Linked DNA regions of Homo sapiens: region 1 is linked to region 2. The links are contacts of gene promoters, found by promoter capture Hi-C in blood cells and fetal thymus (Javierre and others, 2016). All regions are on one chromosome and are shown on one strand. The core of a region is centred on a gene start or on the middle of the fragment in contact, and the rest is flanking DNA. Distances in the headings are between cores, read along the strand shown. Region 1 overlaps FAM13A (family with sequence similarity 13 member A). Region 2 holds the start of FAM13A-AS1 (FAM13A antisense RNA 1).

Region 1 (3,418 bases), core at 5-2,504, 76 kb before region 2:
CACCCTATGGCTTCCTCATAAATATCTTATTTAGAGGGATTCTGAACCATGGGCAGAGAAAGTTACCATATGCTTGTCCAGAGGTATTTTTTTTCTTGCTAGACAACATTAAGTTGACTATTTAGACTTGTTTATGGAGCAGCTGATTTCTCCATTATATTTATGTGATTAAATAGTCAGATATCCCTATAATACTCTGACATTTGATTATGTTTTAGTATAAGAAAGGTTGGGCTTAAATCTACTCAAAAAATGAAAAGCTTAAGTTGTTTATTATAATAATCACTAATTTTAAGGCATTCCCATAGTATGAATTTTAAGAATAGTGTTACAAAGAGCTTTATTCTCCATGAAAAGATTTAATAAAATACAGATGAACAATTACCATTTATATTATTTAATAATCATGACTTAAATTGTCAAGGAAAATAAATTTATATAGAGAATAGACTATACAGATATTCATATATTTTCCCTGAAAGTTCCAAGGTTATTTTTATTGACTATGGCCTTTAGCCTCTTTATGGTTTAATAATGACTCCTTATTAAATGTCAGAAACTAACCTGAACCAGACCCTAGCACCCCTCATTCTTTTTCTTTCTTTTCTTAATTTTTAATCTTTATGAATATATAATAGTCCCACACCCCTCATTCGCATTCTTTTTCACTTTGACTCATAATCTACATTAAACCCTTTATGGAAAAAGAAAAAAAACTTTTTTTCGCTTAAAGAAAAACATAAAAGATAAACAGTATAAATAAGTTTCATGCTATACCTCACCGAGATGTTTAAGAGCTATATTAGCAAATGTAATTTTAGAAATAAAGCAGTATCAATAATATAACCCACTGATTTACAAGTAGCATGTGCAGTACTTTTAAAATAAATTTTCATGGAGCTGGTGGATAGAATAGTTGTAATATTCCATTTAGAAAATAGAAAAAGTATAATATAGGAGATATTTACATTTCTTCTCCTGTGGCATGACATGAGATATTTACATTTAAAATTAGCTACTGACATGTTTATAGAAAGTGTTTAGAAGTATAATTAGTTTGTGTACTACCTCTAATGTGTTATAGAGAAAGCACAAATTATTCATTTAACACTGTTCTTATCCTCTGCCTCATTTTTTGCTGAGGAGTATGTAGCAACATTTTGCATTTTAAAAATATCCTCAGTGTGTCACGATATCCTGCTTTCCACCCTCTTTGTTTGGACAGAGGGCTAGCAGGTGGAGGTGGGAAGTGGTGGGGAGCATGAGAGAGAACAGAGAGTGATGGTGCTGTTGGTGGATGCTTGGCAGCAGGTCTGGGGGAGGACAGTGGAGGTAGAAACAGATAGGGGCCAGACAGGGCAGGGAAATGTGAAACACAGCCTCACCTCTCCTGAAGAATTTAAATAGAGAGCTTCCCAAGCCCAGGGACATTTCTTGCATAAGTTATCTTGATTGTTTTTTACTAGCAGTATTAGGAGAACCAAAGGAGATGGGGAATGGTAGCTGAGTGATGGTATGAAGACTATACCCATGAAACCCTAGCCTTTCCCTTAATTGTTCTTCTCTTGCTATTCCCTTCACCACTCCTCCTGGTCAAATCACAGTTGGGCATTGAGTGAGAGAATCTTGGGGTACAAACAGTACCTAACCTGGCACACTATGATACAATCGTGTCTTGATAGTCCTTCAACTCCCAGCCCACACTGAACGGCTTCTCTTAGCTCTCCAGGTCTTTGGAAGAGTGAGACCCTTATCTCTCAAAACCCCCAGATCCACTAATTTTGTCTGGCCCAGCTTTGACCGTAGGTCAGTAGTCATTTCCTGCAACCCCTCTCCCCTTATCTTCATGCTGGGTTCTGTTATCCTTTCACTCACCTTCTTTGATCCAGTGCTCTCATTCCGCTTGTTTCTTCCCAGCTCCACTCTTTCCTTTTGCTCATCTGCTTGCTTGAAATAGTTTTCCAGCAGGCTGATTCTTTCAGCATCTCCTCTTTGGTCTTAGATTTCTGTTTTAACCTTCCTTTCAATGAGCCGCCATAAAGGTCTTCTCCAGTATCTCCAGGAGAGTCATGAACATGTCATAAATTATAAGAAGATCAAGAATCATTAATATAGCCTACAGTCAAGAGTTCGTCATAGTATATGCTTCTATACAATTGATTCATTTAAGATTTTTCACAAGTCTTTACTCAAAAAATAAGGAAAAATTAAGCTAGGCTGTAATATTCTATTCAAAACTATAAGCTTTATGAAGTGGTTAAAAAGTGTTTAGAAACATAGAAATCTATTTATATTATTATCTATTATTTTGCCTCTAGTAACTTAGAGATGCAACAAATTAAAAAATATTCTTGAAGAAGCCAATGATGACTATGTTTCAAGATGAGTAGAAGGGTCAGTAAAGTCATACTAAAGTCGTCATGGCCCATTTTTGAAATAGCAGTACCGAAGATAGACAAAGACTACAAATAACTTCATTCATAGGTACAAATGATTTGTTATTTGTCTAAATTCATAAGGAAATATAATCAGACCTATATTACTATTTGCTACAATTTTGTAGCAAATTAATCTTCATTATGTAATAATAAAATCTTCATTATGTAAAAATATTCAGCTAAATTCATTTAGTAAAAAAATCTACTATCTGCCAAGTTTACAGAAATGTGAAATTTTGGTAATGGGTATATGGAAGTCTGTTATGATAGTGTCTCTACTTCTGTATATGTTTGAAAAAAATCATAAGAAATATTTTTTAAAAGCAAAGCATCATTTAAGTGAAAATGATTTTCAATCTTCTAAAAACACAGTGAACTGGAAAATTGATCCAAATGTTTCTTTGTTATATAAAGACTATATTAAAATCCTACTGCAAAGTAAAAGAAAAGCAGGCTATATTTGGGGAATAATAAATAGTTCAGCATTGCCAGGACATTAAGTAAGTATGTAGGGGTGAGGAGAAAATCCTGAAAAAAATATGGAAATAAATCTAGATAATGAAAGTGAGAGGTCCAGAGATCTAAGTTCAGTGAAATCCAAGTTATGTCAAATGTGATTGAAATCTGACAGAATATTGCAGGAAGGAATTGAGTACACCTGCTCCATCTAAGATTAGATTTAAAGAAATACAACCATGTGTTTTATACAGAGCTGTATCTAAATAAAGTGCCCCTGAAGTCTTCAACAGTGATAATTGAGCACCCAGTACTATAAGGTGATTCAATGATGAAAAACAGATATCGCATCCAGGCTCATGGATCTATAGTGTAATCGAAATTAGAGTTCAACAAAGTGAAGTAGAAGAGACACGTGGATGCACGTAAAAGCAAAGACTTCCCTCGGAGGAGACAGGATTTGTCCATGAGCACAACAGCATGGTCAGATTTTCATATATTTATTTTGACAGGATTTTTTCTAG
Region 2 (3,829 bases), core at 471-2,970:
GAGAAGGATCCCCTAAAGGGTATGAAGTCCATCCCTCTCTCAGTGTTTTACAAAGGGGCCTGTCTTAGTCCAGTCAAGCCACTATAACAAAATGCCAAACACTAGGTAATTTACAACAGAAAATCATTTTTCACAGTTCTGGAGGCTGGGAAATCCAAGATCAAAGCACTGGTGGTGTCTGGCGAGGGCCTACTTTCTCACAGATTGTGCCTTCTTGCTGTGTCCTCACATGGTAGGGAAGGCAAGGCACCTCTCTGGGTTCTCTTTTATAAGGGAACTAATACCACTCATGAGGGTTCTGCCCTTATGATATAATCACCTCCCAAAGACCTCACCTCCTAATACCATCATCTTGGGGGCTAGGTTTCAACACATAAATTTTAAGAGGGAAACAAACATTCAGACCATAGCAGTGCCCACTGGCATCTTGGGCAGGATAAAGAGGAATTGTTCTATGCAATGCAAGGCATTAAGCATACCTGGTTCCTGGCTACTAACTACCAACAGAGACCTCCAGCTTCACTTGAGACCCACTGCAAATGACATGAGAACTGCACTGATCACTACTGAATTGCACACTGGCAGCAAAACAAAATTCAGTGTGATGTCTTTGCAGATACGTGGAACTCAGTGCGATGTCTTTGCAGATACGTGGAACTCGGTGCGATGTCTTTGCAGATATGTGGTCAAAGAAGTTACCTGCCACATTACAACATTCCTTTTTATTTGGCTACTGAGCAGCCTTAATCCAATTTGTTGCCCATCTCTAGCAGCTGGGCATAACACAGATTAATGGTCAAGTCCAGGTCCCACTATTTTGTGATAATGAGCAACTATTTTCTCTAATTAATTCCTTCATGTGAAAAACTGGGATAATGGTAATTCTAAGTACTGAGAGCTTATTATGTGCTAAGCGCTATTCTATATGCTTTCCATTAATTCATTTAATCCTCACAACAACTCCATGAGGTAGGCACTATTTCTGTTCTCATTTTGAAGAGGAAGAAAATGAGACATAGGTTAAGAAACCTGCCCAAGGTCAAACAGCTAGTAAATAGCAGAGCCAGGAGGACCCTGGTAATGGCAATTAAACTAGTTAGTGCATAGCAAATGTTGGTGCAGGATCTCATATGGGTCTGGTACACTGCACACAATTAATACAGGTTAGTTATTATTAGGTCGAAACCTTAGTATTAATATCTACTTCTGTGGGTTAATCTTAGTTAAAACTTGATTTTCTTACCTCTGAGGCAAATAAGCCCAAACAGTTGTTCTCTCTGATTCAACATCAAATTATGACTCAAGTTCCTCCTAACACTTCAAGAAGGTTTTTCACTCTGTTACTGTAATTTTTGCAAGTCTGGTCTCATAAGGATTGGTCAGTTGTTTTCTGTAAAGGGCTAGATAATATGTTAGGCATTGTAGGCCATCCAGTCTCTGTCATGTATCCTTCCAGTTTTAAAGTTTTCAACCCTTTTAAAATGTAAAAACCATTTTAGCCCATGGGCCATAGTTTGCCAACCCCTGCTCTCTGGGATTATTAATAAGAGTACCATATAAAACATCAAGAGACTTTCACATGGAGTAGATGGAACTATCAGAATTTGCTAATTGCCTCATTACACCGTCATTGATCCCCACCCACCACAATAAAGTTGCCAGATAATTTCATTAAAGTGGTAAATGACTAAAACAATGAAGAAGCATCTGAAAGTTTTCAGGGGAGGGAAGGTTGGTAGGTGGGTAGGCAAATCCAGAAATGCCTATGCAGAAGATTTAAGTCTTCTAAAGCATTGGTAATGAAGGGGAAAAGGAAACTATCTTAGAAAAATCATAGTGTTTTAGAAGCAGCATAAGATATCATTCATGCAACAAATCTTTAGAAATATGTATTGGGTATCTCTATGTTCAGGCACTCTCTCAGTAATGGAATTATAAAATTTTAGAGCTCAAAGTAACCTTAGAAATCATCTGATCCAATCTCATTTCATGGATGAGAATTCTGAGGCCTCAAAGTTAGTTAAAATAATTTGGCAATTTCTGTGCAAAATTAAATGTAGTGGGGTTTGTTTTTAACTCCTCAAATGTAGCACTTATGTAGATTATTAAATGTTTGTTGAATGGAGCTTATTAATGGAAAGCTCCTATTCTCTTTACCACCTTTAAACCACCTTTTTAATCTGGCAAAACAATACATTTTACTTGCTTTACCAATTTACTTAAAATCCTTTCTTTTTTTTTTTTTTTTGCTGTGTCTCACAAACTTTTGGTGTGCTTAAATGGCCTAACAATCACCAATCACTAAATGAACCAGTCTCTGATCCACCTTTAGTGCCTCCTTCTCCCTGCAGGCTCCTACCACCTCCACTCACTCCCCCTACCTCTCCTCAGATACTCTTCTCTAGTTCTGCTGCTGCCACTGTCACTGCTGTCTCAGCTCCTGTCTTTCTGCTTCAGTCCTTCCCACCTCAATACCTCCAGATTTAGACCATCCACATTTTCCTTCTTAAGACCCGGCTCAGGTCTTATCACCCTCAAGTTCTGAACATTGAAACAAATCCTACTTGGCTACTACTAAAGTTCCAGTGTTAGGCTAGTTCCTCAGCCCCAAATCTACCTTCTTTCTCCCAAGTCTTACTTACCATTATTTACTATTATTTGCCTATTTCCTCTGATGTTCCCTTCAAACTGTTCTTGGCTCTTGCCTAAATATGCCCCAATGTTTGAGCCTTTGCTAAAGCATCCCTCTCCATGAGAAACACCTTTTCGTCCATCCCAACCTTCAAAAACTTCATTCTTCCTTAATGCCATCTGCTCCTTGCCCCTGCTTTCTTCTCCATTTCTGCAGCACTTGGCTCTACTTTCTTATGCAGGAATCAAATCTGACCTTCTATTAGATTATCTGAGTATACGACCTAATGCTTCTACTAAAAGCAAGCTATCCATTCTGCAAGTACAATAAGAAATAGTTTTAAGTTAAAACACCAAATTTATTGCATAATATTGAACTATATGCACACACATAGAAAATAAACATTTCATATAACTGTATATATATTTTTAATCCTGTATTTATAAAGACTGAAAAACTACCAATTTAGCAATTGGAATAAGTTTTAAAAACAAAAAGAAAAAGCAAAAATCTACAATCCTTCATCAAGATTTGATGCTTTATCACAGTTCATAAATACTTCATTTTATATAAATAAGTCTTTTCTCTAGTTACTAGGAATTTAAAATTAGACTTACATGGATTCTTTAATCATGTAGAATTTTCTTACTCCATGATGAGGAAGGTTGAGCATGTCATTATTTTTAAAATACATATATTTGATTTAAACACAATCCCCCCTAAAATCCCACTGTAAACAAACATTTCGAATGTGATAAAGTTTCATAATAAAGAACGTCCTTAAATCTTAGCAATTAGGGAAGAGGAAAAAAAATCTGAGTAAAAATTTTGCAATTTAAATAAAAATTGAAAAAAAGGCTGCATGCATCCACTAGAAGGAGAGGAGAGGAAGGGAGCACTGAGTCAAGTAACAGAGAATGGGATAAAATAAAGAAGAAACGAAAGGAAAATCAGGGAGGACACAGGGTACGAAAAGGAGAAAATAAGGGAAGGGAGGAAGGAGAAAATGGTAGAGGACATAAGGTGATAGAAAAAGGGAAAGTAAATTTATTATTTCTACTTTTCTTGGACAATATAGAGACTCAAAATAGTTAATGCAACTTGCTCCAAAAGCGAGAGTGCAAGAGGTGGTGGGTCTATCAATTAACCTTATTGTCAAAGGGACAAGGATGAGCAAGAAAAAATTAGGCTCAGCTG

What was found. Contacts are between HindIII fragments. The CHiCAGO score rates a contact against its expected background, and 5 or more counts as called.
Region 1: a contact is called between a fragment that was not itself captured here and the fragment with the promoter of FAM13A-AS1 in region 2, in 1 of 17 cell types (endothelial precursors). The highest score is 5.5, in endothelial precursors.

What each region holds. Positions count from the first base shown.
Region 1 is chr4:88,784,083-88,787,500 of GRCh38, reverse strand. The region is part of intron 10 of FAM13A (family with sequence similarity 13 member A); the gene reads left to right. Among named protein-coding and RNA genes, the nearest start is that of FAM13A-AS1, 76 kb to the right of the region's middle. The HindIII fragment of the contact is 1,984 bases long and covers 263-2,246 here.
Region 2 is chr4:88,707,680-88,711,508 of GRCh38, reverse strand. It overlaps FAM13A-AS1 (FAM13A antisense RNA 1), which reads right to left and starts at 1,720. Exons shown (of 5, transcript NR_002806.2): 1 at 1,244-1,720. It overlaps HERC3 (HECT and RLD domain containing E3 ubiquitin protein ligase 3), which reads right to left. Exons shown (of 26, transcript NM_014606.3): 26 at 2,970-3,829. The HindIII fragment of the contact is 7,507 bases long and covers 1-3,829 here.